Regions from separate parts of the Homo sapiens genome. Here all the other regions are linked to region 2. The links are contacts of gene promoters, found by promoter capture Hi-C in blood cells and fetal thymus (Javierre and others, 2016). All regions are on one chromosome and are shown on one strand. The core of a region is centred on a gene start or on the middle of the fragment in contact, and the rest is flanking DNA. Distances in the headings are between cores, read along the strand shown. Region 1 overlaps ABCC5 (ATP binding cassette subfamily C member 5). Region 2 holds the start of CAMK2N2 (calcium/calmodulin dependent protein kinase II inhibitor 2). Region 3 overlaps ABCC5 (ATP binding cassette subfamily C member 5).

Region 1 (2,700 bases), core at 82-2,581, 280 kb before region 2:
CAGGAAAAAGAAAGTATCAAAAAGGATTCAGCATGTCAATCAATCAAAGTGACAGTAGCAAAGATCAAGGGGAAGATGCCCCACAGTGCTGGTCTTCTAGGTTTAAGCCACTTCAAGGCCCAGTGAGTTGCGACACATCCATGTCAGGCCCAGGTGGAAGGGGCTAGCTCTAAAGGGGAACTCTGCAATCCTGGGAGCCCAGATCATGGCCGTTCACAAAAGGTAAAAATTCACATTAATTAAAAAAGGTGACAAGTCTCATCCCTCAATTCAGTCTCCTCCACTGCCCCCTTTTTCTTACCAACTTGCCAAAAGGCCAAAGCCAAGCTTAAGCCCAGTGAGGCCAGCCTGGGTGGCCCCTTGAACAGAGCCAGCAGTTAGTTGTGTGGGGAGGGCTCCTGACACGGGGGCAGGGGAAGGAGCCACTTACCTTAAATCTGTCAACAGCCACTGAGGCTTCTGAGAGGGACTTTACTGAAAACGGTGTTACTTTCAAAGCAAAAGTCATGGAATTGAAGACTGTCACCACTGTGAAAGCCTGAAAATAGGAGAAGAGAAGAAACTGTGCCTAATGATGCTATGCAACTGAAGTAACCTGACACCATGAATTTCCTCTCAGGCGCTAGGAAGGCTGCAACTTCACGGTCAGCTGTTATTACAAGTCAATTACATTTTTTTTTTTTTGAGACGGAGTCTCGCTCTGTCGCCCAGGCTGGAGTGCAGTGACACGATCTTGGCTCACTGCAACTTCCACCTCCCAGGTTCAAGCAATTCTCCTGCCTCAGCCTCCCGAGTAGCTGGGATTACAGGCATGCACCACTATGCCCAGCTAATTTTTGTATTTTTAGTAGAGACAGGGTTTCACCATGTTGGCCAGGCTGGTCTCAAACTTCTGACCTCAAGTGATCCGCCCGCCTCGGCCTCCCAAAGTGCTGGGATTACAGGCGTGAGCCACCATGCCTGGCCACATTTTTTTTTAAGTAGAGTTTTTGAGACCTTCAATTAAAATTGTCAGTAAATATGAACCACAGGATGATCTGTAATTTCAGAATTAAACTCAAACTTATGTTGACTAAAAACAACTCATACACTATTTGTGCATAAGGGCTGGCTCCCCACTCTTCTGCTTCTCAGCTTAATCCCATGAATGAAAAAATACCTACTAATTCTTGGGGGAACCTCCAGGTCCAGTAAGGAGAGGACCACAGCATCATCTCCATATGTGGTATTTTTTTTTTGTTTGTTTGTTTGTTTTGTTTTGAGATGGAGTCTTGCTCTGTCCCCCAGGCTGGAGTGCAATGGCATGATCTTGGCTCACTGTAACCTCCACCACCTGGGTTCAAGTGATTTTCCTGCCTCAGCCTCCAGCAAATGTGGTATTTCTAAAATGTTCCCCATCCCTGAGGGTTCCCTGACCTGTGCTGCTGTCAGATCGAAGCCCAGGGTCATATGAACAGAGAAGGTCACCACGCTGGCAATCACCACCACAATGGGAGCCACACCCACAGTGATGCTCTGGAAGTACCCAGCTTTTTCCAATATCCGACGCTCCTCCTCGCGGATTTCTATGAATAAAAAGCAAGCCAATTTCAAAGCAAGTTAAAAGAAGCCTAGGGATGTTGTTCCTCCACCTCCAAACAAGACTCTGTAGGTCTCCAGCCACCCTTCAACACCTATGACTATCAACTCTACCACTAAAGCTGGTATAAAAGGCTGAGGTTTGAAATGGATCAAGTGACAGGAATGAATCTAACAGAAAGCAGTCACTATGTATGAACTCAATCATCATCTTCTATGATACCTTTTTCTGATTCTTCTTGTAAATTTCTTAGGTTGAGAAGGAATGAACACATTAATTGTATCTATAATTGGCAGTTGTGTTTGCTTACCTGGTTGTTGTTGACTTTTTGCCTAAGGAATTAATAGGAAAGACAACACAATGGCACTGGAGAATTAAAAAGGGAGGGACTAAGAGGCCAGGTGCGGTGGCTCATGCCTATAATCCCAGTACTTTGGGAGGCCCAAAGCAGGGGGAATCACCTGAGGTCAGGTGTTCGAGACCAGCCTGGCCAACACGGCAAAACCCCGTCCCTGCTAAAAATACAAAAATTAGCCGGGTGTGGTAGTACACGCCTATGATCCCAGCTACTTGGGAGGCTGAGGCCGGAGAATTGCCTGAACCTGGGAGGTGGAAGTTGCAGTGCACCGAGATTGCACCGCTGTATTCCAGACTGGGTGACAAAGCCAGGCCTTATCTCAAAAAAAAAAAAAAAAGGGGCAGTGGGGAGGGAACTAACATTTCCCAGAGTGCCTGCTGTATGTTGGCAGTGGGATAGAAGCTTCCATATAAAAATGCAGTAATGACAACCGGAAGAAGATAGGTGAAATACAATTTCTATAGGCAGAATGATTTTTCTTAAATATTTGCAAAATCAACCCCCATATTAGCAAAGCAACCATAGTGTACTGAAGACCGTGGAGCAGGAAGCAGAACAATAAGATACTTTTTTTTCAGACGAGGTCTCGCTCTGTTGCTCAGGCTGGAGTGCAGTGGCACAATCACGGCTCACCGCAGCCTCAACCTCCATGGCTCAAGTGATCCTCCCATCTTAGCCTCCCAAGTAGCTGGGACCACAGATGTGCACTACCATGCCCAGTTATGTTTTATTTTTTGTAGAGAGGAGGTCTCAGTACGTTGTC
Region 2 (2,700 bases), core at 74-2,573:
GCGCAGGGAGAAAGCGCGTCAGCCGCGCGGCCTCGGGGGGCGGCGGCGATGAGAATGAGCCCCGCGTCCTAGCTTCCCGCGCAGCTACTGCCCGTGGCCCAGCGACGCCCCTCGGAACCCTGTGCCGCGGTGTCCTCCCCGTCCGAACTCTTCTGGAGACCCAACCCGCCGCCAAGCCTAGACCCCCTCCCCTCCCGATGGCGGAACGCCCCTCTTCCAAAGGCTCCAGCTATTCTCCCTCCCAGTGCGAGCCCTCCTGCCACCTGAGCCTTCCTCCCTCTGAGTTGATCAGAAACCTCTTGCTCACGGAATCCCCCTCTTCAACCCGCACTTCAACAGATCCCCCTGCTCAAATGGGGCTCAAACCGAGTATCCAGCTGGTCCAGCCCTCTCCTCAACCTGAGCCCTCTCGCCGCTGGAACCCCTCTTCCGATCCTGGCACCAACAGAGCTCCCCTCCCCATGCAAACAACCAAGACAAGCGGACCCCCGGCCTCCTGCCCTCTCTTGTTAGACGTCCCTCTCGACCCGAAGGTTCTTCGTATTGTCCACCGACTCAGTATTTGATCCCAAAGAATCAGCCCGTTACCCCGTGCTCCCACTTCCGTGCAGCCCCAAATGCCCCGACCGGCCCCTCCCCCTCGCCCGGGTGCCAGGGCTCTGCTTCCAGAGGTGGCGAGCATCGAATCCGGGGCACCGTGTTCCCGGGAGAAGGGAAGAGGGGGACACACACTGCAGCGGGGACCCCCCCCTCCAGCCCGGGCTGGAGAGCGGCTGGTGCGCTGGTCTGCGGCAAGAGCTGCGGGCACTCGGCGGGGAACGGCAGCCGGGGGGCGCCCGGCGGAGGGTTTCTGGGTCAGGCGGCGACTCCGGGCCCGGGCCGCGTACCTCGCTTGGCTCGGCCGATCTGGCCCAGCTTGGGGGGTCGCTTGGCCTGGTTGCCCGCGAAGAAGGAGTTGGTGTCCTGCAGGCGGCAGCTGAAGGAGAGGTCGGAGCCCTCGGGGTCTGCGCCGAAGCGGCCCATCTTGTCTTCGCTGTAGGGCAGGATCTCGGACATGGCGGGCGCGGGGTGGGCGCGGGGCGGGAGCGGGACTGCGGCGGGGCGCGGGCGGCGGGCTTGCTGCCGGACCGGCCCTACCTCAGCAGGGGAGCCGGCGGAAGGATGAAGTCATGCAGCATCCGGGGCTGAGGAGCCAAGCGGGGCCTCCTCCCCCGCGCCTCCGCCTCCCGGGCCGCTGGGCAGGCGGCGGCGGCGGCGGTGGCGGGGACCGGGCGGGGGCGGGGGCGGGGGGCGGGGGTGGCGGCGGCGGCGGCAAGAGCGGAATGACGATGAGCGCCCGACTGCGGCAGAGCACGGCGGGCGGGGCGCGGTGGAGGCGGGGCGGGCACTGGCCAGGGGAAAGAGGCGGGGCCGGGGGCAGGAGCGCGCCCAGCTACCCCGGGAACAGAGGCAGCTGGAGTGGGAGGTTCCCGCACTGTGGCGGGGAATGGCCAGCACGTGGGTCTTGGGGAATAGTACCAGCCAACCCGGCCGGGACCTCGCGGGGAGGGGCGGGACCGAAGGGGGGTGGGATCGAGCCTGGTACTGGAGGAGCTTGGAGGAGGGTCTGACCCCTAGGCTGGGAGAGGCGTGCAAGGGGGACTGGGAGCAGGAGGGCAAAAGCTGGCCGGGCGCGTTGGGGCGGGAAGGCGGCCGCAGGGCTGGCAATGGAAAGCGGGGAGCGGGAAATGCGCGGGGAGGAGACTCGGGTACAGGGTGACTGGGGAAGGCACGAACCCACAGCGCGGGAAGAGCTCGGGCCAGTGGGATGGTGCCCTTGCCGCTGACGCGCTCTTGTACTAGTTGCTCTGCTGGTCTTAAGTAGATCGTCAGGGTCCGTGCGCCTCTGAGTGCCGGTCTGTGTCTCTGTCTCCGCCTTTGTGTGTGTCAGTCCATCTCTAAGTGTCTGTATCTCTCTGTCTCTGTGCCCCGTATCTCTTTCGCTGTGTTATGGCCTTTGTCTATGCCTGTCCCTTAAGTGTCTGCCTTTCTCTATCTATCTCCATTCTTGACTCCTGTATCTCTGTGCCAGTGTCTCCGTCTCCTGAATCTGGGTATTTCAGTCTCTCCTAGGAGGGGTCTATAGAAACTGGGCCGACGCGCGCGCACCAGGGCAGACACCCCCAGCCCTAGTCCGGTGGCTGTAGCCCCCCGCGGCTCTGGAGTGGTGCGCTCGCAGTGTAGGAGGAATGAATGGCGGCGTCGCGGGGGGCGCCCTGGGCTGCGGGTGACGCGGGGAAGCTCGGAGCACCTGAGGACGCGGAGCGCGCCAGTGTGTGCCCCGAGGGAGTGCGGTAGAGATGGAGGGTGCCCCCCGCCCTCGTTGCTTTGGACCACGGGTGAGTTCTCGCCTCACCGATGGGAACATGCCCTCTTCTCCCCTTGCCTCCCGCCCCCACAACCCCCGCCCTGGCTGGCCGTCACCCGCGGCGTCACCTGCTTGCCAGCGCGCAGGAGCTCTGGCGCAATCACTGGCCTTGGGGAGGAGGGGGTGTCTCACATGCGGCGACAGTGACGGCAGCGCTGAAAACGGTAATGATCACCCTGTACGTTCATTCCACACTCCAGGCGAACGCGCTTTCCTTCCTTAATCTGGCCAAATTACCAAATCACACAGCTGGTGAGGCTGCCTTGTAGTGGGTCTCCTTCCAACACTTTCTC
Region 3 (2,700 bases), core at 168-2,667, 300 kb before region 2:
ATAAGCTTTTCCACCTGGTTCTGTAGGACCTCCATATTCTGGCCCTGCCCTAATCCTGCAAGCTCCTCTCCCATCTCACTGGTGTCCACAGCCCCTACTCTCAAGCCACACTGGACTTCACACCATTCCTTACACCACACTGCAATTTCCCATTTCTCTACTTTGGTCCACACTCGTTCCTCCACTTGGAATGCCCCTCCCCTTGTCCCAATCGCAGTCACAGTTGTCCCCATTCAGATAGATTCAAGTCTTCCATTCTTCATGAGGCAACATACACTCCCTGGAAAGCTCACCCTCCCATTCGCCCTTAGAACTCCATTAGTACTATACATGTGATGTGGTCTTGTAAGCCACATTTGTAAGTGCTTGTAAGAGCATAAAAGCATCGGTCTTCCCTAGAACACTGTGAGTCCCTTAAGGACAGAGATGATGTCTCTCACATGGTTACAACCTGCACAGGCCCTACCCCTGAGAACTGCCTATAACAGGGCACACAGGGACTCAATAAACAGCCATCAGGGTTCTACCTGAGATAACAGAAACTACTTAATGCTCTCCTTTCCAAGTTTCTCTTATGTCTTTTTTTTTTCTTGAGATGGAATCACGCTCTGTCACCCAGGTTGGAGTGCAGTGGTGCAATCTTAGCTCACTGCAACCTCTGCCTCCTGGGTTCAAGCGATTCTCCTGCCTCACCCTCCCAAGTAGCTGGGATTACAGGCGCCTGCCACCACACCTGGCTAATTTTTGTATTTTTTTGTAAAGACGGGGTTTCTCTCTATGTTGCCCAAGCTGGTGTCGAATTCCTGGGCGCAAGCAATCTGTCCACCTCAGCCTCCAAAAATGCTGGGATTACCAGCAAGAGCCGCAGCACCTGACCTGAGTGCTTTCAAATGTATGCAATATTTAATTTCCCTACCTTGGCACTTTATTCACTTGTTTATTTAAAAAAGAGCTTCATAATGCTTCAATCAGGTGGATGGAGCTTAGGAAACTAAGCTGTGAATGAACAGCAGCACACATCTTCTCTGCCCTCACTGAGCCCATATCCTTCTCCCTGCCATTGTCATATTAGTAAGTTCTCAGTGACAGAAGACCTCAGCTCACCAGCCCCACAATCCTGCTCTCCTAGAGCAGAATCAGTGTGTGAACTAAGGCACAGCAGTCTGTTCACCAGAAAACAGGGCCCCTGCCAATAAGACACAGACACTGGATTCAGCTGAGGTCTCTCCATCACTCACTCCGGCTGTGTTTCCCTTGCAGAGACAGAAGGGGACACACGCAAACACCATCAGATCTTACCTCAACTGGCGGTGTCTCTCCCAGCAACAGGTTATTAAAAATGGTAGCATAGTCACCATTTAAATTCATCAGTTCCTCATGGGTGCCTCTTTCCGTAATACAGCCCTCTTTCATGAAGATCACTTCATCACAGTCAACCAGGTACTGAAGGCAAAGGCAGAGACAACACAATATGCTGTTTGTGCAAATACATTCAAAAACCCATACATTAGTTCAGTAGTTCTCTACAGGAGACGAGTTAAGCTCCCAGAAGACATTTGGCAGCATCTGGAGACATTTTTTTTTTTGAGGCAGAGTCTTGCTCTGTCGTTCACGCTGGAGCGTGGTGGCGCAATCTCGGTTCACTGCAATCTCCGCCTCCTGGGTTCAAGCGATTCTCCTGCCTCAGCCTCCCGAATAGCTGGGACTACAGGCATGCAGCACCATGTCTGGCTAATTTTTTTGTATTTTTAGTAGAGACGGGGTTTTGCCGTACAGGTAATCCGCCCATCTCGGCCTCCCAAAGTGCTGGGATTACAGGCCTGAGCCACCGCGCCCAGCTGGAGACATTTTTGGTTGTCACAACTCGGGGGAGAGGTACACAGATGCTCCTCAATTTACAATGGGCTTACATCCTGATAAACCCAACGTAAATTGAAAATATCAGAGCTTAGCCTAGCCTACCTTAAACATGCTCAGAACCCTTACATTAGCCTACAGTTGGGCAAAATCATCTAACACAAAGCCTATTTTATAATAAAATGTTTAATATCTCATGCAATTTTTTTCAATACTATGCTGAAAGTGAAAAACAGAATGGTTGTGTGGAAACCATCATAAAGTCAAAAAACTGTAAGTTGAACCGTAAGCCAGCGACTGTCTCTACTGGTATCTAGTGGCTAGAGGCCAGGGGTGCACAAAGCAGCCCCACACAACAATGGACTATCTGGTCCAAAACATCAGTGGTGCCAACACTGAGAACCCCACTTCAGTGTATTGTGCCTCGTGACATAGTATAAGGAGCAGTTCCTCCAGTTTTTTTCTTTTTTTTTTTTTTTTGTGACAGAGTCTTGCTCTTGTTGCCCAGGCCGGAGTGCAATGATGCAATCGCAGCTCACTTTAACCTCCACCTCCTGGGTTCAAGGGATTCTCCTGCCTCGGCCTCCTGAGTAGCTGGGATTGCAGGCACGTGCCACCATGCCTGGATAATTTTTGTATTTTTAGTAGAGATGGGGTTTCACCAGTTGGTCTCGAACTCCTGACCTCAGGTGATCCGCCAGCCTCAGCCTCCCAAAGTGCAGGGATTACAGGCGTGAGCCACTGTGCCTGGCCGAGTCCCTCCGGTTTTTCACATGAATCTGCTGATGGAGCCACATGAGCCCTGCATTAAATTTACACCCTTTCACTGCACTCACAAATATA

Evidence for each region. The method cuts DNA at HindIII sites, captures the fragments that hold promoters and counts their contacts. A CHiCAGO score of 5 or more calls a contact.
Region 1: a contact is called between a fragment that was not itself captured here and the fragment with the promoter of CAMK2N2 in region 2, in 1 of 17 cell types (M1 macrophages). The highest score is 5.1, in M1 macrophages.
Region 3: a fragment that was not itself captured here is called in contact with the fragment with the promoter of CAMK2N2 in region 2 in 1 of 17 cell types (M1 macrophages); the score reaches 5.3 in M1 macrophages.

What each region holds. Positions count from the first base shown.
Region 1 is chr3:183,977,087-183,979,786 of GRCh38, forward strand. ABCC5 (ATP binding cassette subfamily C member 5) reads right to left here. Exons shown (of 30, transcript NM_005688.4): 9 at 1,417-1,565; 10 at 431-538. Among named protein-coding and RNA genes, the nearest start is that of ABCC5-AS1, 28 kb to the right of the region's middle. The HindIII fragment of the contact is 2,012 bases long and covers 326-2,337 here.
Region 2 is chr3:184,260,230-184,262,929 of GRCh38, forward strand. It overlaps CAMK2N2 (calcium/calmodulin dependent protein kinase II inhibitor 2), which reads right to left and starts at 1,324. Exons shown (of 2, transcript NM_033259.3): 1 at 888-1,324. The coding sequence starts at 1,056. All of the region lies in intron 2 of EEF1AKMT4-ECE2 (EEF1AKMT4-ECE2 readthrough), which reads left to right. RefSeq lists enhancers at 1-530, 2,416-2,700. The HindIII fragment of the contact is 12,942 bases long and covers 1-2,700 here.
Region 3 is chr3:183,960,212-183,962,911 of GRCh38, forward strand. It overlaps ABCC5 (ATP binding cassette subfamily C member 5), which reads right to left. Exons shown (of 30, transcript NM_005688.4): 16 at 1,300-1,443. Among named protein-coding and RNA genes, the nearest start is that of ABCC5-AS1, 45 kb to the right of the region's middle. The HindIII fragment of the contact is 2,828 bases long and covers 4-2,700 here.